7 separate regions of the Homo sapiens genome follow, and all the other regions are linked to region 1. Evidence: promoter capture Hi-C in human tissues and cell types (Jung and others, 2019). All regions are on one chromosome and are shown on one strand. The core of a region is centred on a gene start or on the middle of the fragment in contact, and the rest is flanking DNA. Distances in the headings are between cores, read along the strand shown. Region 1 holds the start of SOX1 (SRY-box transcription factor 1). Region 2 has its middle 17 kb from the start of LINC02337. Region 3 overlaps LINC02337 (long intergenic non-protein coding RNA 2337). Region 4 has its middle 62 kb from the start of LINC02337. Region 5 overlaps SPACA7 (sperm acrosome associated 7). Region 6 overlaps SPACA7 (sperm acrosome associated 7). Region 7 overlaps LOC105370373 (a long non-coding RNA gene).

The links. The method cuts DNA at HindIII sites, captures the fragments that hold promoters and counts their contacts. A contact is called where the count stands out against the background at its distance.
Region 2: a contact is called between a fragment that was not itself captured here and the fragment with the promoter of SOX1 in region 1, in 1 of the 25 tissues and cell types used here (dorsolateral prefrontal cortex).
Region 3: a contact is called between a fragment that was not itself captured here and the fragment with the promoter of SOX1 in region 1, in 5 of the 25 tissues and cell types used here (H1 embryonic stem cells, IMR-90 fibroblasts, dorsolateral prefrontal cortex and 2 more).
Region 4: a fragment that was not itself captured here is called in contact with the fragment with the promoter of SOX1 in region 1 in 7 of the 25 tissues and cell types used here (H1 embryonic stem cells, IMR-90 fibroblasts, dorsolateral prefrontal cortex and 4 more).
Region 5: a contact is called between a fragment that was not itself captured here and the fragment with the promoter of SOX1 in region 1, in 3 of the 25 tissues and cell types used here (spleen, stomach and thymus).
Region 6: a fragment that was not itself captured here is called in contact with the fragment with the promoter of SOX1 in region 1 in 2 of the 25 tissues and cell types used here (lymphoblastoid cells and mesenchymal stem cells).
Region 7: a contact is called between a fragment that was not itself captured here and the fragment with the promoter of SOX1 in region 1, in 4 of the 25 tissues and cell types used here (H1 embryonic stem cells, liver, mesenchymal stem cells and 1 more).

The regions. Positions count from the first base shown.
Region 1 is chr13:112,065,544-112,068,584 of GRCh38, forward strand. It overlaps SOX1 (SRY-box transcription factor 1), which reads left to right and starts at 1,606. Exons shown (of 1, transcript NM_005986.3): 1 at 1,606-3,041. The coding sequence starts at 2,116. All of the region lies in intron 1 of SOX1-OT (SOX1 overlapping transcript), which reads left to right. The HindIII fragment of the contact is 28,986 bases long and covers 1-3,041 here.
Region 2 is chr13:111,577,699-111,580,739 of GRCh38, forward strand. No RefSeq gene overlaps it. Among named protein-coding and RNA genes, the nearest start is that of LINC02337, 17 kb to the right of the region's middle. The HindIII fragment of the contact is 3,908 bases long and covers 1-3,041 here.
Region 3 is chr13:111,640,144-111,643,184 of GRCh38, forward strand. It overlaps LINC02337 (long intergenic non-protein coding RNA 2337), which reads left to right. Exons shown (of 2, transcript NR_135814.1): 2 at 1,602-1,936. Among named protein-coding and RNA genes, the nearest start is that of LINC02337, 46 kb to the left of the region's middle. The HindIII fragment of the contact is 3,151 bases long and covers 5-3,041 here.
Region 4 is chr13:111,656,524-111,659,564 of GRCh38, forward strand. No RefSeq gene overlaps it. Among named protein-coding and RNA genes, the nearest start is that of LINC02337, 62 kb to the left of the region's middle. The HindIII fragment of the contact is 3,813 bases long and covers 1-3,041 here.
Region 5 is chr13:112,399,410-112,402,450 of GRCh38, forward strand. SPACA7 (sperm acrosome associated 7) reads left to right here. Exons shown (of 7, transcript NM_145248.5): 5 at 1,660-1,755. The region is part of intron 2 of LOC105370372 (a long non-coding RNA gene); the gene reads right to left. Among named protein-coding and RNA genes, the nearest start is that of SPACA7, 25 kb to the left of the region's middle. The HindIII fragment of the contact is 5,032 bases long and covers 1-3,041 here.
Region 6 is chr13:112,379,061-112,382,101 of GRCh38, forward strand. The region is part of intron 1 of SPACA7 (sperm acrosome associated 7); the gene reads left to right. It overlaps LOC105370372 (a long non-coding RNA gene), which reads right to left. Exons shown (of 5, transcript XR_944294.2): 4 at 1-5. Among named protein-coding and RNA genes, the nearest start is that of SPACA7, 4.2 kb to the left of the region's middle. The HindIII fragment of the contact is 3,218 bases long and covers 1-3,041 here.
Region 7 is chr13:112,360,916-112,363,956 of GRCh38, forward strand. It overlaps LOC105370373 (a long non-coding RNA gene), which reads right to left. Exons shown (of 3, transcript XR_944295.3): 3 at 698-2,478. Among named protein-coding and RNA genes, the nearest start is that of SPACA7, 14 kb to the right of the region's middle. The HindIII fragment of the contact is 3,875 bases long and covers 1-3,041 here.

The sequences.
Region 1 (3,041 bases), core at 356-2,855:
ACAAGACAGGCAGACATGTGACATGCGGTGAAGGTTCTACTTTACCCACCACCAATCTCCACAAGCACTCTCATCTCAGGGTGCCTCGGGGAGGGCAGAGGAGGAATACTTGGGCTCAAAAGTCGTCTTTGGACCACTTTCAGATCAGTCTGGTGGAAACGGTAGTGTGAGCGCTATGCTACTTGAGACTGCGTTTGAAAATCTCTTTCACGTTCCCAAATCAAAGCCACTTTGAGGTTTAAGAATGATAACCACAGGTGAATGCCTTACTCTTTCCACGAGCCAGGCCTTTCCTTTGCATGACGCAGACCGGCGGCTGAGACCCGTCCTGAGGCCCCGCCTTTCATTCGGTTTATGTGGCCCCGCGCAGTTCACGCAGTTTTCTCCGTTCTTAGGCAACCAGCTCGTGGGAAATTCACTCCAGAAAAGCGTGCGCCATATCATTATTTTGCGATTCAACAAACTTTTTCAACTGTTGTTCAGGAACTAGATTCCAGATAGATCTTGTTGTGTTCGGCCTTCCTAGAAATTCCTTTTCCAGAGGAAGAAGATCCGGGTTGGGAAGAGTGCGTGACTATGGCCCCGGGCTCATTGAAAGACTCCTCCCCACAAAAGTTTAGGGCTGATACTAAACGAAGCTATGGAGCCATGCCCACACAAATACTCCCCCTTTACCCGAATTGTGGGGCCTGGACTGTGAAGGCCTTCGCTGCAAGAGCGGGCACTGGCGAACTTCAGTGCACGCCGCGGCCGAGAACGGATGCAGGGCGGGGGATGGCTGAGCCGCCTGATCCTTGCAGAGAACCTGCAGGGGCCCTCGGAGGGTATCCCCTGCGTCCAAGGGAGCGCCCCTCCTTTTCAGCACTCGGGGGAACTGAGGGCGACGTGCCAGCCCCGCACTCAACTTTCCCCTTCCCTGCAGGCACAGAGTTGGCCGGCGGGGGCAGAGGAGGAGCTGGGTCTCCACTGCGCCCGTTTAAACCTGGCCAGGGGCTGCGTTTCCTCCCCCCACCCCACGACGATCCTTTCTTAGTCTTCGCTTTTCAACCCAATCGTTAATCATTCGGAACGCGCGGGCGGGGAGCGGCGAGGAGGGCGAGCTCGGGGTTCGCCGCCGCCGCCGCCGCCGCGCGCGCGCGCTCAGGAAGCGGTGTGGCTGTCACCCCCTCCCGGGCCTCCTCCCCCCTCCTTCCTGCTTTGCTCCCCCTCCTTCCTCCCCTCCTCCCCGCTCCGCCGCCCGCGCCCAGTGTATCTACTCCCTCCCCACGTCACTCGCCAGCGCGCCATGCAAATCACCGCCGCCGCCGGCTCCCATTGGCCGCGGCGCGCTCATTTAATGGCAGCCCGGGCCCGGCGTATGGCTGCTGGGCCCCGCGCGCCGCCGGCCCCGCGTGCGCCTCCGCTCCGAGCGCACGGCCCCGGGCAGGCAGCGGGCAGCCCATCCCGGGCTCGGCGGCCCCGGCTCTCCGGCCCTCTCCGCGAGCCCGCGCTCCTCCCGCTGTCCCCGGGCCCCTCCCTGGCTGCACCGTAATCGCCCCCTGCAGGCCCCCCTGCGCCTCCCCCCCCCCGCCACTGGCGCCTGGCTTCCCCCGGGCACCTGGGACCAGCACATGCCCAGCGCACGCGGCGCGCCGCCCTGCTAGAAGTTGCAGCCTCCGAGTTGGAGGCCGCTGAGGACCGAGCGCAGGAGGAAGGAGACAGCGCGCAGCGGCGGCCGGCGAGGAGACAGCACACCCCGGGCCGGGCCCAGCGCACCGCTCCCGGCCCCAAAAGCGGAGCTGCAACTTGGCCACGACTGCACCTGTTTGCACCGCTCCGCCGAGGGCGCCTGGGCTGCGGTGGCGGCGAAGACGGCGACCCCGACCGTCGGCCTCTTTGGCAAGTGGTTTGTGCATCAGGAGAAACTTTCCACCTGCGAGCCGAACCGGCGCCGAGTGCGTGTGTTTCTGCCTTTTTTTGTTGTCGTTGCCTCCACCCCTCCCCATTCTTCTCTCCGCTAGGACCCCCCCGCCCCCGTCTCACTCCGTCTGAATTCCTCTCCGTCTCCCTCCCACCCCGGCCGTCTATGCTCCAGGCCCTCTCCTCGCGGTGCCGGTGAACCCGCCAGCCGCCCCGATGTACAGCATGATGATGGAGACCGACCTGCACTCGCCCGGCGGCGCCCAGGCCCCCACGAACCTCTCGGGCCCCGCCGGGGCGGGCGGCGGCGGGGGCGGAGGCGGGGGCGGCGGCGGCGGCGGGGGCGCCAAGGCCAACCAGGACCGGGTCAAACGGCCCATGAACGCCTTCATGGTGTGGTCCCGCGGGCAGCGGCGCAAGATGGCCCAGGAGAACCCCAAGATGCACAACTCGGAGATCAGCAAGCGCCTGGGGGCCGAGTGGAAGGTCATGTCCGAGGCCGAGAAGCGGCCGTTCATCGACGAGGCCAAGCGGCTGCGCGCGCTGCACATGAAGGAGCACCCGGATTACAAGTACCGGCCGCGCCGCAAGACCAAGACGCTGCTCAAGAAGGACAAGTACTCGCTGGCCGGCGGGCTCCTGGCGGCCGGCGCGGGTGGCGGCGGCGCGGCTGTGGCCATGGGCGTGGGCGTGGGCGTGGGCGCGGCGGCCGTGGGCCAGCGCCTGGAGAGCCCAGGCGGCGCGGCGGGCGGCGGCTACGCGCACGTCAACGGCTGGGCCAACGGCGCCTACCCCGGCTCGGTGGCGGCGGCGGCGGCGGCCGCGGCCATGATGCAGGAGGCGCAGCTGGCCTACGGGCAGCACCCGGGCGCGGGCGGCGCGCACCCGCACGCGCACCCCGCGCACCCGCACCCGCACCACCCGCACGCGCACCCGCACAACCCGCAGCCCATGCACCGCTACGACATGGGCGCGCTGCAGTACAGCCCCATCTCCAACTCGCAGGGCTACATGAGCGCGTCGCCCTCGGGCTACGGCGGCCTCCCCTACGGCGCCGCGGCCGCCGCCGCCGCCGCTGCGGGCGGCGCGCACCAGAACTCGGCCGTGGCGGCGGCGGCGGCGGCGGCGGCCGCGTCGTCGGG
Region 2 (3,041 bases), core at 394-2,893, 490 kb before region 1:
CTTAGGGAAGACCCAGTTTAATAAGAGCATGTGTGTAGGGAGGCTCCCAGTCTCATGCGAATCGGGCCTTCACTCCTGCTATCACCTACCCTACTGCTTCTCTCTGAGGGCCCCTGGTTTCAGATCTCTCCCTACCTAGGCTTTTGACAAAGGCAAGGATGTCAGTCAGGTGGCTCTCACCCGTGGTGGTCGGTCCTAGGGATGGGTGAGATCACAATAGCTGGACTCTCAGGAGTATAGACTCTTGAATTGCTAATGGGTGCTGCACATCATCCAGATGGTAATAATTAGCTCATCAGGTATGTTTGGATAGGATAGCCCCATTCTAGACTTCATGTTATTACAACATACTCATATATATCCATTCATTCACTGGGCACACATCAGGGTGCACGCTGTGTCCCAGGCACTGGGGACAGAGTGGTCAGGGAAAGCTCAGCTAGGTGAGGCCACCGCAGCCCCGGTCTCAGCGGCCTGACACAGCAGTCATCGCTCACACACACAATGCAGACCCCGAGTTTCGGCTGGGCCCTGTCCTCCACCCGTACCCCACAACACACTGTCTGGAAATTGCTGGTTGTGGAATGAGAGAATGGGAGTTCTGGAAGACCTCCCTCCAGCAGCAGTTCAGTGCTGTGGGCTGGAGTTGACGGGGGTTATTTTCACTCGCAGTCCGTTGGCTTGAATTATACATGTGTCCCCCGCACACAAGGGAGTCAGGAAGTGTGGTTCCACCATGTGCCTGGGGGCAGAGCTAAGGGCTATGCTGTGCTGGAAAGACAGGTGCAGGCGAGATCCGATACTGTGGTGCATGCATTTTCCCTGGGCAGCCAGACATTAAACAGGCGAGGACAGGGTTGATTAATTATCTTCTTGGTAGGTGCTGTGGGTAGCATGAGGTGCCAGAGTGCTGTCCTTGGGTGTTGCTGTCTATTCATGAGTAGTTTCTTTTTTTTCGGTTTGTTTTTGGTTTGGTTTTGTTTCGTTTCGAGATGGAGTTTCGCTCTTGTCGTCCAGGTATGAGTGAAATGATGTGATCTCGGCTCACTGCAACCTCCGCCTCCCGGATTCAAGCGATTCTCCTGCCTCAGCCTCCCGAGTAGTTGGGATTACAGGTGTCCACCACCACACCCAGCTAATATTTGGTATTTTTAGTAGAGACAGGGTTTCATCCTGTTGGCCAGTCTGGTCTTGAACTCCTGACCTCAGGTGATCTGCCCACCTCGGCCTTCCAAAGTGTTGGCATTACAGGCATGAGCCACCACGCCCAGCCATGAGTAGGTTCTTTATTAGATGTTTTTCATTCTTAGCATGGAATAAATGATGAAGTCATAAATATTTGGAAGTGAAGGAGTCTGAACTGATAACACTTTTCCGTGGCTTTTAAACTGTATTCAGTGAATCTCCTGGGTGTGTCGGGGGGCTGATGTGATCAGAGAAGCTCTGACCTGGCCTCGTGGTCCACACGGAACTGCCGCAGCCGGTCATAGCAACAGCAGCCTAGTGTTTTAGGGTGTGTGCATCAGATTTCACGCACCCACACACACACACACACACCCACACACAAAATTGGTTCTGCTGCTTTAACATATATAATACAAATAGGCTTGTCTCAAACTAGCTTTTTGCTATCTGGGGCCCAAAGAAGTTAAGTGACTTCTTAAGGCTACATTTGAAACTACTGTCAGAGCAGACTCATTGCTCTGATTTTTTTTTTTTTTTTTTTAGTGATTTTTACTGTGGTAAATATACACAAAATAAAATTAACCACTTTAACCATTTTTAAGCATACAGTTCAGTGGCATTAAGTATATTTACATTGTCCAACCATCACTTCCATCGATCTCCAGAACTTTTCACTATCTCAGACTGAAGCTCTGCACCCATTAAACATTCATTCCCTTCCCTGGCCCCCAGCCCCTGGCAGCCCCCATTCTACCTTCTGTCTCCATGAATGGGGCAACTCGAGGGACCTCATATGAGTGGGATCGTACTGTATCTGTCCTTTTGTGACTGGCTTACTTCACATAGCATAATGCCCTCAAAGTTCATCCACACTGTAGCGTGAATCAGAATTTCATTCCCTTTTTAAGACTGAGTGTTTATTCTAAGGTATGTACACGCCACGTTTTGTCCATCCATTCATCTGTGATGAACATGGATTGTTTCTGTCTCTTGGCTGTTGAGAATAATGCTGCTGTGAACGTGGGCAGACAAGTATCTATTGGGGTCCCTGCTTTCCATTTTTGGGGATATATAACTCGACACTGCTTTGACTTGAAAGTTATTTTTTTCATCAGAAAAGTAACACCTATTCTTGTTACTTGAATTAAAAAAAAGTTAAGACCAACAATGTGCAAAGTGCTCTGCTAGCCCCTTTGAATGAAAAAATGTCCCCATTGCAGTGACCCTGAAGGACGGAGGGGGAGTTGCTGAAAGGAGCTGTGGCCTGAGCAGCCCTAGAACTGCCCTGGTGGAAGGGCACATGGACGGCCTCAGACTATTCAGGATATTGGCTGTTTAAGGAACTATGCTGTACACCCAGGCAGAGAAAAGTTACAATTTTACTCAGGCATTAAGAGTTTGAGAATTAAACCACTTTTGGATCTTACATTTTGCTTGAGATAATGAAGCTTCTGCGACCCCACGTTATTTCCTTTGGAGCTTTGCTCTCTTGTTTTGTGGGAGCGCATCCTGCAGTGGCTTCCTCAGAAAGAAGGCATGGGAAGTAAATTTCCTGAATGCTCATGAGTCTTAAATATCTTTGTCTGTCTCTACTTTGATTAATCATTTATTAATAAGGTATAGAATAGAGATAAATTTTTATCATGATTTTGAAGGTACTGACCCATTACCTTCTAGCACCCAAGCCATTAGTAATAATCCTATTTTCTTGCCACTGATTGCTTTAGGAATATTTATGGGACCAAATTCAGGCCCAAGAACACAAGCAGGATTTGCCAGAGAAAGAGTCTACGTTTCTAAACAGGGTGCAATCAGGACACTTCCCTCCTTTACCTTTCTTTTTGGAAGTTGTCCCT
Region 3 (3,041 bases), core at 330-2,829, 430 kb before region 1:
CAAGCACCCCTGAGTGTGCAGAGAGAGTGCCAAGGCAGCCTCGCCAGCTGCAAGTCACGTGAGTTCGCGGCTGCCAAATGGCAGTGCAGAGGAGCACGCAGCAGCGCCTGGGAGGCGCTCGGCTCCCTCCAAGTCCCTATTACGTTAATTTACTTCCTGGTCATAATCACCCATGGGATGAGTGCTATTGCTATTTCCATCCTATAGACGAGGCAGAGAGATTTTAAGTAACTTTTTTCCAGATCCTACAGCTTGGAAAGGCGGAGCTGGGCTTTCCACACGGCACTTCAGCACCGTCCCATGCTGTCTCTCAAAAGAACAATTATAAAGTCCTTCCAAAGCTTTAAAGTAAAAATCAGTTTAAATGTGAGGTATGTGGGCACTTGTTTGTTTCAAATGATGTGCAGCAGTGCCTTTCAGTGCAGTCAAGGGTGCTTGGAGTTCTCAGCACCTCCGGAGACCTTGACGGTGATCAGGAATGGAAACCGCATGGATCAATCAAAGTGGCTCCCAGGGTTGCACTAGAGGCTTTGCTGCAGAGCCCAGCCTGGAAAATGACGGCCACATTCCCCGTGGCCTTGAGCCCAGCGTGTTCACCAGCCATGACGGCCCTTTGCCTTTTGTCTGTCTACCCCCACCAGACCCAGCTGGACGAGAGGGACGGATGAGGGTACTACCTGCTCAGGGCTGCCTTCTTTAGCCCTTCTCAGAATGAGAGTCAGTCTTGTCTGAATGTGCAATCTTTGAATGAAATCAGATTGTTCCTATTTGTCATTTTATTAGCAACTCATTACAGCCATTTCTTTGGGATTAAAAAGAGAAGAAAGAAGGAACATAAGTAAAAAGAGTGAGCTAATGGCTCACCCAGAATGCTGTGGCAATTTATGGTGTCTTGAATGAAATGACAGAATTGCCATAATGTTAAATTTAACATGTTTTATTTTAGCAATATGATCATCTGATCATATCTCCAAGCTCAGCCAGCATTACAAAAGTAATTTTTATAATTGTAAATTCATTCACTCTAAGATGCTTCAGAATTACTTTAGAGATCACATTACCAAATTTTCAGCTTAAAAGTGACTTTATCCTGTCATGTGTATCACTTCAGTGATGGGAGCAGAATGGGAATGTCTTCTGCACATAGAAATGGAGTGAACGCCTCGTGGACTTCAGGCTTTCAGAGCACGAATTGTCGCAGGTGCTTTCTCCTCTTAACAGTGTTTGCCAATATTTGTTTCTCCCCTCCTGTCTTGGGTACCAAGGCTCTCCTCAATGCCTCTGTCCTTCTCCCTTTTGACATTGCCACCAGGACTTAAGAAGGTCAGGGAGGTTGCCCGCAATGTGCCTGCTGTAAGTAAGAGTGTCCCGGCTGTGAGGACCACCATGTCGCATAGATGGGGCCTGCTGGAGGTGCTGCTGGCAGATTTGTGGGCCTAATTCTGGCTTTGGGGAAGGGCAAAGCCCTGTTCTCATGAGTAGAGGGGTCGCACAGAATCCTCAGCGCGTATCCTGCTAATTGCTGTAGCCCCTCCTAGTAACTCTTAATAAACACGACTGGTCATGCACAGAATGCAAAACCCTTTTCTCTCTGTTGGCAGTTTCTCAGGCTGAGAAAAAAACATCAGTGTGGGGGAAGATTTGGGACCCCTGTCTGCATCTACCTGGACTCTCATTAAACAGATGATGTGATGAAGCAATCAGAAAGCCTGGCCAGCTGCTCACCTCCAGGGCAGCTTCTTGGGAAGACAGTGAACAATTCTGGGGGTTAAGAACTGTTTTTAAAAGAAAACACTAGGGAGGCTGGGGCAGGAGGATCGTTTGAGGCCCAGGAGTTGGACGCTGCAGCTAGCTATGATTGTACCACTGCACTCCAGACTGGGTGACAGAGCAAGACCTTGTCTCTAAAAAATAAATAAATTAACCTTTAAAAACCAAGCGCAAGGTTAGCCTTCCACTGAACCCCACCGCTGTCCAGCATCTCGTGTCTTGGTGCCCGCTCTGAGGCAGGGTTGGATGTGGTTTGCAGCAGGCCTTCCAGGGCTGGTTTTCATCCTGACTTCATGGCTGATGCTGGCTGACCCAGGAGCCTGGCTCCCTCCCTCTAGGCCATGTGGCACTGTGACCCGCTCCCTGGGGCCATGGCAACTGAGGGGAGAAGTGAATGCTTTGCTTTGGGCTTTACTCTGTAAATTCTGCTCATAGGGAACGCTCTGGATCGTTGCCCAGATTTCTCCCGTCTTCTCTGGGCCAGCCCTTTCCTCAGGTGGAGCTGGGAAAAGAGGCCAAGGACGCAGCTCTGGGAGACGACCTTCCAGGGCAGCCTTGGAACACCATGTCCCCAGCATCTCTGCTGGCAGGACCGCCATGCATGAGTGGGAAATCGCTCACAACCTGCTCCCATCCAAGAATGACCATTAATGTCTATTTTGGCCACTTCTCAAGTAATTGTCAAAGCCCAGCTGGGAGATGCCCGCACACAGAGCCCTGGGCCCAGGCCACAGGGGCACACCGTTCCTACCTTCCTTTGAATCAATTGTTTCATTTAAACTCAAAGCAAAATATTTAAACAGACCAAGTAATATTTCTTTTTCTAATCCAGGTGTGCACACGTGCGTGAGCCCTGTGTTTTCCCTTTCTGCCTCCACTTTTACAGATCTGTGAAGTGGGGCATTCGGCACGGTGGTGGTGAGACACATGGGGTCTGGGGGCCAGGCTCCTACATCCTCACTGTGCTGACTGCATAGACCAGGGGCAGCCTGGGAAGAAGAGGCACCAGGCGGCAGAACAGGCCAGATTGTGTCCAGGAATTGAAAAAGCATGTGTATTTTTCTCATCCCTTATGTTTAGAGAAAAAATATTTATTGCTACTTCTTTCTTAAAGCTTCATTTTTAGTTAGCTTCTTATGAGTTCCACATATGGAAACGTTTCCATATTTTCACAAATCTAAGTTAATGATACCTTTACAACCAGCCCCCCAATGCCCAAGTGGCCTCCAGAAGATGACGAATAACATAAATGAAATAAAATCATCAGCTGA
Region 4 (3,041 bases), core at 201-2,700, 410 kb before region 1:
CATCACCACTGGCAGCCACTGCGGCCGCCCAGGAGTAGAACCTCTGCAGCCTCACCCTGTGCCCACGAAGGGGTCTCCAGAAACGTCACCATCACCACTGGCAGCCACTGCGGCCACCCAGGAGTAGAACCTGCAGCCTTACCCCGTGCCCACGAAGGGCGCTCCAGAAACGTCACCATCACCACTGGCAGCCACCGTGGCCGCCCAGGAGTAGAACCTGCAGCCTCACCCCGTGCCCAGGAAGGGGGCTCCAGAAACGTCACCATCACCACTGGCAGCCACTGCGGCCGCCCAGGAGTAGAACCCGCAGCCTCACCCCATGCCCACGAAGGGTGCTCCAGAGACTTCACCATCACCACTGGCAGCCACTGCAGCTGCCCGGGAGTAGAACCTGCAACCTCACTCCGTGCCCACGAAGCGTGCTCCAGAAACTTCGCCATCACCACTGGCAGCCACCGCGGCTGCCCAGGAGTAGAACCTGCAGCCTCACTCCGTGCCCAGGAAGGATGCTCCAGAAACTTCACCATCACCACTTTACCTCTTCCTCTCACCTCTGTCCCTCAGCAGCACCAAGAAAGACTTCTTTTTGTCTTGAAGTGTCTCCTCTGAGCCTCCTCCTTCCTCATAGTTTCACCTCTGCCCAGCAGTCACGCCTCAGCCTTGCTATGTCCATGAGAGCGCACCTGTGAAGCCTGAGGGCATCATCAGAGATGAGGCGTGGTCTGTCCAAAATGCCTGGAGAGTCTCCTGGCTCCTGGAATGCAAACATGCAGCAGAAAGCTGATTGCCGAAAGACACTGGGAGTTTATGCCAGCAACCAGACCTTCACAAAAGACTAGCAACCTCTTTACTCTCATTTCTGCTTTTACTGTCTGCCCTAGTTGCATGGACTTGTTAGCAGCCTCTTTGAGGACTAGAAAAGATCGTCTCATGATGTCCAGCAGGAAGCCAGACATCCTGTAAGATGTGTGCTCCAATTTCCATCAACCATGAAAAGATTAGGCTAGGTGAGTTTTGGGGAGTAGAAAACCCACATCTAGCTTTTTTCTAAGCACAGGTACCACTTTCAGGTCATCGGCATAGCATCCTTACCTTAGAACCAGGAAGTTCCAGTTTGTCAAAGCCCTGCTAACCATCAGAGCAGGGGCCAACTCATGGTAGCCCACACCTGGCTTTGTACGGCTGGTGATCTCAGAATGGTCTCTCCATTTTTAAGTGGTTGGAAAACAAATTACAAGAAGCATGGTATCTCATGACACATGAAATTTATATAAAATTCAAATTTCAATGTTCCTAAATAAAGTTTGACTGGAACAACCCCACACCCAAGCATTTGCATATCTGGGGCTGCTTTTGAGCTGCACTGGCAGCACTGAGTAGCCACAATGGAGACTGTGTGGCCTGAGAAGCCAAAACTATTTATTACTTCTTTTTTCAGAGAAGAAGTTTGCTGACGCCTGCACTAGAGGTTATGCCTGGCACTTCCCTTGCTTTCTCTCATCTATATGATCTGCTAAGTTCTGTTAGGGACATGGAACTGCACTTCTGAAATATTTCCAATCTGCTCTCAACCCACAGTGTGGGGAACTTCAAAATGCAACAAAGCAAAACTCTGATTAATAAATAAAACTGCACAATTGTTGACTGTTTGACATTAAAGACCCAGGCACAGCAGGCCAACCAAACCAGTCCCCATTTCAAATCGTTCTCCCCAAACATGATGCATTTCAGCAAAGATTGAGGATCCCTGCTTGCTCCAGGCACGGCGGCCACAGGGCCCAGGCAGCAGGCCCGGGAAGGCTGAATGCATTCCGCCTCTCTCTTCTGATACCTCTTTGTTAAGGTCTCCCGGGAATCCAGCTTCCTTTGTGCAGGCAGCTGCGTTTCCAGTGCGTGGTGCAGGAGGCAGGCAGGGGAAGTGTGGGCAGGCCGGTGCTGATTTGCAATCGGATGAGCATTGTTTTTCTCCTGCTCTGCACTAAGTCTCTGGAATCTATCAGTTATATAGATTATGTAACAAGAGCCAATAGCTGGGTGAAAACAAGCTTCAGAAAAACAGAAAGCTTGACAGCAACAACAACAAGAAAGGCAGGTCCAAGGGAGGTTATGAAATGGAGCTTGACCTCTCTCCCTCTCTCTCTCTCCCTCCAAGCCACGGCTTTACAGTTGGCTAACTTTGCTGTAATTGAGTCTGAAGGTTGAGTCCTTGTTCTTTAAGAATTGCCAATGGAGCCCTCTAATCCTCTGTGGTCTCCTCAGTGAATCAGGACTTTGGTTTATTGACATGTAATTAGATCAGTATGTCACTACATCAATGCCAGTGTAAACATCCTGGAGTAAGTAGCTGATCCTTACAAGATCAGCAACCTAATCTCCACTGGGATGCCAACCGGCTTTGTCAACACTCCAGTTGAGGACTGTATCTCTTTTCCTGATGTCTGACTCCAGCAAGGAGGGGGCTGGAACCGAAGCAGGAATCTGCCACCTGAAGACCTTCTTATTGACATTTGGGCTCTTCCATGACCTTCATTACTGAGGGGCGCCAGTGACCTAAAATAAATACTACCGGGGCATGCGAATTCCATCTCCTTCTCATGTCTTCCCTCTGCGTTTCTCACTATTAGGAAGAAGTACATCCAGCAGAAAAGCCAGAATTGAAAGCACCTGAAATGTCCATTGCCCATGAGAGTTTCACTTCTAGCTCACACTTTCAATTAATGTGAATTAATTTCAAGGAAAAGAAGCTTAGGTTCTAATTCTGATGTTTATTGATAACACTACCAATAACTGGCAGAAACATGCTAGGTATGTGACATTCAAAGTCAGCAGAGACTGGCTCACAGATGGTGGTTGGGGCTGCTGTTTGTTAGGCATTTGCTGAGGGCTGGAATCTGTGCTGAGTGGGCGTTTGCATCCGCCTCTTCGCTCATTCCCTAACGATCTGAGGGAAGTGTCCTGAGCATCTCCGCTGAACCGATGAAGGAGCTGAGCCTCAGAGAGGGTCACTGTCTTGCTAAACATTACACAGATTGGAAAGCAGG
Region 5 (3,041 bases), core at 163-2,662, 330 kb after region 1:
AGCAGAAATGTCTCATGGGCAGGCAGATGCCAAGACAGGGAGGCAGGTGCTGCCACAATGCCTGGCCCCCTCTCCCAAAGCTTCAGCTAAGTCACTTCTCCTTCACAGGGCAGGTGCAGAGAGAGCCAGAGTGCCCCCAGGGGGGTCCCCCAGAAGTAGGGAAAAGCCTCCCTCCAACAGATGAGTCTGCTGGGAAAAAAATCAGTGTGCAAAGGCTCAGAGGATAAGATACTTGGACCCCATGGAGGGGCAAAATACCTCCTCTTTACCCTGGAGATTCAAAACCAGAAAGGGCACATATATATACCCAGGTATATGAGTCCATTCTCACACTGCTACAACGAACTACCTGAGGCTGAGTAATTTATAAAGAAAAGAGGTTTAATTTGTTCATGGTTCTGCAGGCTGTGCATGAGGCATGGCTGGGAGCCCTCAGGAAACTTACAATCATGGCAGAAGACCCTAGAGGAAGCAAGTACATCTTCACATGGAGACAGGAGAGAGAGAGTGAAGGGGGAGGTGCCACACACTTATAACCAGACCTCATGAGAACTCACTATCATGAGAACAGCAAGGAGCAACTCTGCCCCCATGATCCAATCATCTCCCACCAGGTCCCTCCCCTAACACTGGGGATTACATTTAGACATGAGATTTGGTTGGGGACACAGAGCCAAACCATATCACTGGGACACACATGTAGGACATCTGTGGTGTTCCCCACACACAGGACCAGGTCACAGCTCCAGTATCTGATGGTGTGCCAGGAGCCAAGCATTTCTGTAGGAGCCCAGGAATCTGCATCCCAATCCATTACCCCAAAGAGTCCCCCCAATAAGACAGACTCTGGAGTTGGGAAAGATTGAACTCGATTTTTTCAGGACTTAAACAGGAATAAGATTTTATTTAAAATTAATATGAATACCTCCAAATTTGTCTGCCTGGTGGTCAGTGTGGTGTTTGCCAACTGGCGAGTTTCTCTTTCTGCCATTGCTTCTCCATTTATTAATTGGGATTCTGCTTTAAGAAAGAGCTGCCCCTCCTCCCCTGTTTATGTATTCGGTTGCTTATTACTGTCTACATGGGCTACTAGGGATTACTATAGTCTGTGGGTTATAAAACACTAACACCGTTACTGATTGTGAGCCAAGAACTGGATGCTTGCTAAGTTCAATGGCACAGCATTTCTTCCAGGCCCTCTCCACAGAAAGAGCTAGGAAACACTTCTGTGCAAATCACAGATCCGTGCAAATCCTCCTTTCCTGCCCGCACTCCTTTCTTCCTACCCCAGTTCTGCAGTCATTATTTTTTGTATGTATCTTTCCATTGTTTGCAATATTTTGCCATTTCAAACACAGCTGCAGTGAGCAGCCTATAGCACAGGTATTTTCATATTGTCAGGAATTATCTCCAGGGTCAATTCTTAGCATTGGGATGTTGGGTCAAAGGACGTGTGGAGGAGTGAATATGTAGTTTTAATAGTCAGATGAGGCCTGGCTCTGTATTCACATATTGAGTTTCCAAAACATATTTTCAAATAAAACTTGAAAATGATATTAGCATCTCAACTTAGCATGTTTAAATAAATAAATGACCAAAGTGCTTATAAGTGTGTAATCAAGGACATTTTCCCCATTTTTTCCATATTTGTCATTAAAGAAGCCAATGCTAATGCAAATCTCCATGGCGATCCTTCTGAGAATTATCGTGGGCCACAGGTGTCTCCTGGCAGTGAGAAGAGTGTTTCCAGTAAAGGTAAATGTGCCCTGCCCACACTGAGAGCTCTGTGGGAGAGACGGAGGCATGAGTGTGTGAGGTGACTGTCTCCCTCCAGCCTCGCCAGTATGCCTTGTTATGCCATTAGGTTTCCACCAACATCATGGTGAGAAGTGGTATTTCAGTACTGCTTTTGTTTGCAATTGTCTCATTATGAGTGAGTTTAAACATCTCATATGTTTAAGGGCCATTTTTATACCACTTTTGTAAATGTTGCATTCATTACAATTTCCCATTTTCCTTTAGGTTTTTGGTCTTTTAGCCTCATTTCTCAAAGCTGTTTATATTTTAAGAACAAACTTTTAGAGAGAGAGAGATGATAGATAGACAGATAGATGATAGATGGATAATTGTTGGGGTTTGTTAGTTGACTTTTGACTACGTTTATAATTTTTCATGCAAAAAAAGTCAATTTTTGTGTAGCCAAAATTATCAATCTCTGACTGCCTTTAGCTTTTGACTTTCTGAGTTAGAAAGTCTTTCTCCACACTGAGGCTAAAGAAGAATTTGTTTTCCTCCAGTATTTATAGGACTTCATCTGCTACATTAGCTCTTGGATCCATTTGGAGTTTATCTCTGAGCATGGTGTGAGGTGTTCCTAATTTTATATTTTTATGAATGGCTACCCAGTTATCCCTGAACCATTTTTTTAAAAGTCCATCTTTGTCCCATGATTTGCAAAGCCACACGTATTACACACAAAGTTTTTCTGTATGTGACTGTCCTGTCTGGGCCATGCAGCACAGTCCTCTACTAAGGGGCCAGCACCACAGTGTGTTATTCAGAGTGTATTTTAACCTCTGGGACACACTTCCCTCTTTTAGTTTTTTTAGCTTTTCTTTTTCCATGTTTCCCTGATTATATTTTTGGTAACATGTCTAATTTCCTTTCCTTGAGTTTATGTTTTTATTGGGATTGCTTTACATTTGTAAAGTAATTTAGAAAATAACTGGCAGTTTTACAATGTTGAGTGGATCTATCTAAGAATAAGTAATGTCTTTCTGTTTGTTCAATGTCATTTCCTATCTTTCAGGAATATTTTTAAGTCTTCCTTGTATAGGTGTTATACTGTCATGATAAGCTTATTCCTAAGTATTCAGTCTACTTTCTTGCTATTAGAAGCAAGATTTTATCTATCATTGTGTACTTTAACTGGTCTTTTGTATGAATGCCTTGATTTCTATAGGTTAATTTTATCCTGCTATCTTACTGAATTATTTTCTTGTTTGAGTTAGCTTTATCATTGATTATCTAGGGTTTTCCAG
Region 6 (3,041 bases), core at 248-2,747, 310 kb after region 1:
TAAATCTGGAAAACAAAACATTAAAAAACCAGAAACATTTCCAAGAAAATTCAGAAAAATTATAATCGTCCCCACATTGAGTCCCACATCATTAATTCTTGTTCTACTTGATCTTGGGTTAGCAGGTTTACAAATCCGTCAATGTCTCCCTGAGTTCTGGAAAAGTCCAGTCTAATAGTGCAATCTTAGAGGCGTCAGAAACCTTACTCCAGAGTACTTGGCAGAGTCTTACCTAAAAATCTCCTTGAAGACAAAGAATTTTTGGACTGTAGCTGATTGCAAAAGCTTTCAAAAAAGCATCAGAGTAAAACAATAATTGTCTTGAATGACAAAAGACATAAAATGCATAAAATGGCCATGGTTAAAAATCTGATGAGAGTTCATTATGCTGCAATTGACAAGGAAATTTGGTTGTTTCTGTGACATACAACATTACAAGACAATAACGGAAATTAGGACTCATAACTTTATACCAGGACATATCATGGACAGTAAGGACAGTGAAAATTTCTAGGAATTTAATACAATTTCTGAAACACTTATAACATATATGCATACAAATATAAAGAAGGTTAAACATCCCTTATTTGACAATGCTTTTTACGAATTTAATGTATCAAATAAAGCTAATTAGTTTAACATCTTTCTTTTCACCAAGTGAGAGAACAAATCCTTTGAGATTTTCTAGTGGCCCTCTGGGAAATCTCAAAATTAGTTTGAGGTCAAAATTCTTCATTTAGAATTTTACTTGGATGAAGTTGTCAAAAATTATAAAAGTTTTGAATATTTGGTTAAATAGGATCATAAGTTACTATGAAATGGTAGCTATCCATTTAAGTTAAATGACAGTAAAGAATTTTTAAAGAAAATATAGGAAGTAGCATGGTTTTTAAAACAATTTAGCTCTTTTAATATTGAGGAGACTCAGTTTTCTTAAGTAATCAAAAACATGATAAAGAAAACATGAAACACAGGAAATATTTGATAAGACACAGAATCTTTGTTTCCTAGTAAGACTACTCAACAGGTAAGAAACAAGTACCTCTTACAATCTCTTATTAAGAACAGACCAGGCCTGGCGTGGTGGCTCATGCCTGTAATCCCAGCACTTTGGGAGGCCAACATGGGCGGATAATCTGATGTCAGTATTTCAAGATCAGTCTGACCAACATGGTGAAACCCCATCTCTACAAAATTAGCCAGACATGGTGGTGCATGCCTGTAACCCCAGCTACTTGGGAGGCTGAGGCAGGAGAATCACTTGGACCCAGGAAGTGGAGGTTGCAGTGAGCCAAGATCACGCCATTGCACTCCAGCCTAGGCAACAAGAGCAAAACTCAGTCTCAAAAAAAAAAAAAAAAAAAAAACCAGACCAATAATTCAACAAAACTTTGGCCTTTTAGCAGACAGAGAAAATCAAACTCCAGTACTGCATTGCTACACTCTTGATACTAAAGCTCATCTATAAAATCTTATAATAAAATTCATTTACTGCTAGTGTATCTTCACCACATAAGATTTTTCTCTCTCTTTTTTTCTCAGAGACTCGTTACATCTTTCCATACTAATTTACGCATTTTGTCCGGTTTTTTCTCTTCCTGAAAAAACAAATTTTAAACCACTGTAGGACAAAATTACTCACTTTTTTCGTCAACAAAAACACATTCTTCATATCACATAAGCTTTCTTATCAAAAACAGATCTTACTTTCCTTTATACTTTGCACAGGAAGTTGTTTTTCTTCACCCTCATTATTTCCAATAGTTTTAATTACACATGTTGATTATGTTGATTACAATGTTCAACAGAGAAAACTAGGAGTAGACAGTTGTGAATTGTGTCACATATAGCATTCTGTAACAAAGTAGCAAATTGTATGACTATACCATCTTACAATTTTTAGAGATATATTTATCTACAGCATAATTTTTCAAGGTGGCAAAAACAACTTTTGTTAACAGACTCAAATACATTTAGTCTCTCTGTATCATATAAAATAAGAAAACTTTGCTTAGTACTGAGTGTTTCAATAGCTTATCTTATTTAAAAATTATTAATGAAACTCTTGTTTTACTTAACTGATCATGACGCCAGGGTGATGAGTCACCAAAAAGATGTTTAGAAACTGTTTTTAAAAGGCAAACACAGGTTGGGTGCAGTGGCTCATACCTCTAATCCCAGCACTTTGGGAGGTTAAAGCTGGTGGATCACTTGAGCCCAGGAATTTAAAACCAGCCTGGGAAATATGGTGAAACCCCATCTCTACCAAAAAAAATGCAGAAATTAGCAGGGTGTGGTGGCATGTGTCTATAGTTCTGGCTGCTTGGGAGGCTCAGATGGGAGGATCACCTGAGCCCAAGAGGTCGAGGCTGCAGTGAGTCATGATCACACCCCTGCACTCCAGCCTGGCTGACAGAATGAGACCCTGTCCCCCAAAAAAAAAAAAAAAAATGCAGACACGCTATTGTAACTGCCCAAGGGGTTCACTTGCCCCCTGCCCAGGCAGAGCCAATTCTTCAAGACAGGGGAACTGCGATAGAGAAAGAGTAATTCACGCAGAGCCAGCTGTGCAGGAGACCAGAGTTTTATTATTACTCAAATCAGTCTCCCCAGGCATTCGGGAAACAGAGTTTTTACGGATAACTTTGTGGGTGGAGGGAAGCCAGTGAGGCAAGAGTGCTGACTGATCAGGGATGAAATCACAGGGAGTCAAAGCTGTCTTTTTGCACTGAGTCAGTTCCCGGGTGGGGGCCACAAGATCAGATGAGCCACTTTATCCATCTGGGTGGTGCCGGCTGATCCATCAAGGGCAGGATCTGCAAAATATCTCAAGCACTGATCTTAGGAGCAGTTTAGAGAAGGTCAGAATCTTGTGGCCTCCAGCTGCATAACTCTAAACCATATAATTTCTAATCTTGGGGCTAATGTTAGCCCTACAAAAGCAATCTAGACCCCAGGCAAGAAGGAGGACTGCTTTGGGAAAGAGCTGTTACCGTCTTTGTTTAAACTATAAACTAGGTTTCTCCCAAGGTTAGTTCAGC
Region 7 (3,041 bases), core at 144-2,643, 300 kb after region 1:
TGTCTTCTTTTGAGAAATGTCTATTCATGTCTTTGGCCCACTTTTTTAATGGAGTTATTTGGTTTTTGCTTGTTTAATTCATTAAGTTTCTTATAGATTCTGGATATTAGACCTCTGTTGGATGCATAGTTTGCAAATATTTTCTCCTATTCTGTAGGCTGTCTATTTACTCTGTTGATAATTTCTCTTTCTATGAAGAAGCTCTTCGGTTTAATTAGGTCTCACTTCTCAATTTTTGTTTCTGTTGCAATTGCTTTTGAGGACCTAGTCATAAATTATTTACCAAGGCCAATGTCCAGAATGGCGTTTCCTAGGTTTTTTTCTAGGATTCTTATGGTTTGTCGTCTTATATTTAAGTCTTTAATCTGTCTTGCATTGACTTTTGTATATAGTGAAAGGTAGGGGTCCAGTTGCACTCTTCTGCATATAGATAGCCAGCTATCCTAGGACCATTTATTGAGTGGGGTGTCCTTTCCCTGTTGCTTATTTTTGTCAACTTTGTTGAAGATCAGGTGGCTCTAGGTGTGCAGCTTTATTTCTGGGTTATCTGTTCATTCTTTTGGTCCATACGTCTGTTTTTGTACCAGTACCATGCTGTTTTGGTTACTGTAGCTTTATAGCATAGTTTGAAATCAGGTAATGTGATGTTTCCAGCTTTGTTCTTTTTGCTTAGGATTGCTTTGGATGTTTGGGCTCTTTTTTTGTTCCACGTGAATTCTAGAATAGTTTTTTTTTTCTAATTCTGTGAAAAATGACATTGCTAGTTTGATAGGAATGGTGTTGAATCTGCACATTGCTTTGGGCATCGTGCCATTTTAATGATGCTGATTCTTCCAAGCCATAAGCATATTTGTTTGTGTTATCTATGATTTCCTTCAGCAGCGTTTTGTAGTTATCTTTGTAGAGATCCTTCACCTCCTTGGTCAGATGTATTCCTCGGTATTTTATTTCTTGTGGCTATTGTGAATGGGATTATGTTCTTGATTTGCTCTCAGTTCAAATGTTATTGGAAATGCTACTGAATTTTGTATATTGACTTTGTATCCTGAAACTTTTTACTGAGGTCATGTATGAGTTCTGGAGCCTTTTGACAGAGTCTTTGGGGTTTTCCAGGTATCAAATCGCATTAGTGAGAACAGATAATTTGACTTCCCCCTTTCCCTGCTAGGATGCCTTTTATTTCTCTCTCTTGCCTGATTTCTCTGGTCAGGACTTCCGGGATTCCCAGTTTTAATTCTTAGTCACTCTTAGTTCCAACAGTTGGAGCACCGACAACTGTGAATTTATGACTGTACTCCACAAAGAATGTCTAGGCATTTAACCATGCTGTCTGCATTCAGTAGCTATCGGGAATAACAGCTGTTAGACTTGAGCAAACGTATTGATGGGAACATGGCTAGGAAACATCTTTAAAGTTTCTTTAACCCTGTTTCCCTGTTTGTCCTGCCAGCTAATGATATTCTTTGAAAGAAAAACTGAATTTAAACTCTGCTAACAGAGGCCTAACTCCATAGCAATGTGTTTTACAAATAGTAGGTCTTGATAAACATTTCTAGCACAGTTTTACATCGAACTCATGATCAACACTTTTCTCCTAGTTTTCCAATTAATAATTCTATGTAATCAAGTATTTTTTTCTTTCACTGTGATGTGACTCCATCCTCATACAATGTATTTTGTATTTGATTTTGCCAAAATTATTTCTTAAAGCAACATTGGATTCTTTATTTGAATTCAAGAAACTAATACAAAACGGAGCCTGAATATATGGAATTGGTCTCAGAGAACACACTTGCCCAGATTTTCCAGGCCAGTCTTGGCCATCCTGGGAAACTCTGCCATTTTGTGCTACTGGTTTCATAGCCAATCGTGGCCAATATACTGGATTGTATCACATGTAGAAATCTACAATTAATCTGATTCCATGTAATCTGATCCTCTCAGCAGACATACTCCATAAGAAGACAAGAAAAAGGAAGGAAAGGAAAGGGAAGGGAAGGGAAGGGAAAGGAAGGGAAGGGAAGGGAAGATGGATAGATGGATAGATGGATGGATGGTTGGATGGATGGATGGATGGTATAGAAAGCTTTTAGGAGATTTTCTTTCTCAGGTAAATATTTTGCTTTCCCAGAGGAGACAGCATTCCCCCTTGGCATTTCACTTTTGTCTCCAACACTTAGAATTTCTAGTAGCGGGACCTCTGGACTGCAGGGCTATTATAGACCACTGAGGTCAAGGTTGATGCATCCAGGAAGGTGCCCTGCATTTTCTTGCTAGTCTTCAAAGACTCCTCCTGTGGACACTTCCTGGGCAGGAAGTGTCATTGGCCACGATCCTGCTGTGACCCTCCATTCTGCATCCAGGTTCTTTCTGCCTTTTAAAGCATCGGCATAATGTCTCTACAATTAATCTGTAAAGCAGCAGAACTTTGTGATTCTGACACAGTTAATCGTTCCCAGTATCTCTATTTAAAGCTTTCTAAAGACAAAAGTAAAGAAGACAATTATACAGATTGCAGAGACCAGAGTAAGATAAGCTTGGAGAGAAAGAGAAACTCAGAGAGCCAACAACAATATAACATAAACAGCTCAGCAAATAATAGTGCAATTTCCCAGCTAATAGAATGGTTTAACACCTGAATACATTCACATGCCTGATTAAGCACTAACAACATACATCCATAAAGGAAGATTATAAGTTGTAATATGCCTTTGCAAGAAGCAGCATATTAACCACTATTTGTATACTTCTCCAATTACATTCCTTTAATTCTTTCATTTAGAAAACAGTTTACATTATAATAGCCAGCATCACTTCTGTTTTTAAAACAATTGGTTATGTGTATATTGCCAAATTATGGGTCTACGGGATATTTTCATAAGAGAAAACAATTGCCAACATGCCTGGAAAAGGATCTTTAACTCCCCTGGAAAAGGGGAGTCTGGTGACATACGGATGCATGGCCATTCCTTCTCACTATGCCAACGCTTCCCAGTGGGTTGAACAGCCCATTTTTTCTTCTCAAGTTTTCTGTGAGCAGA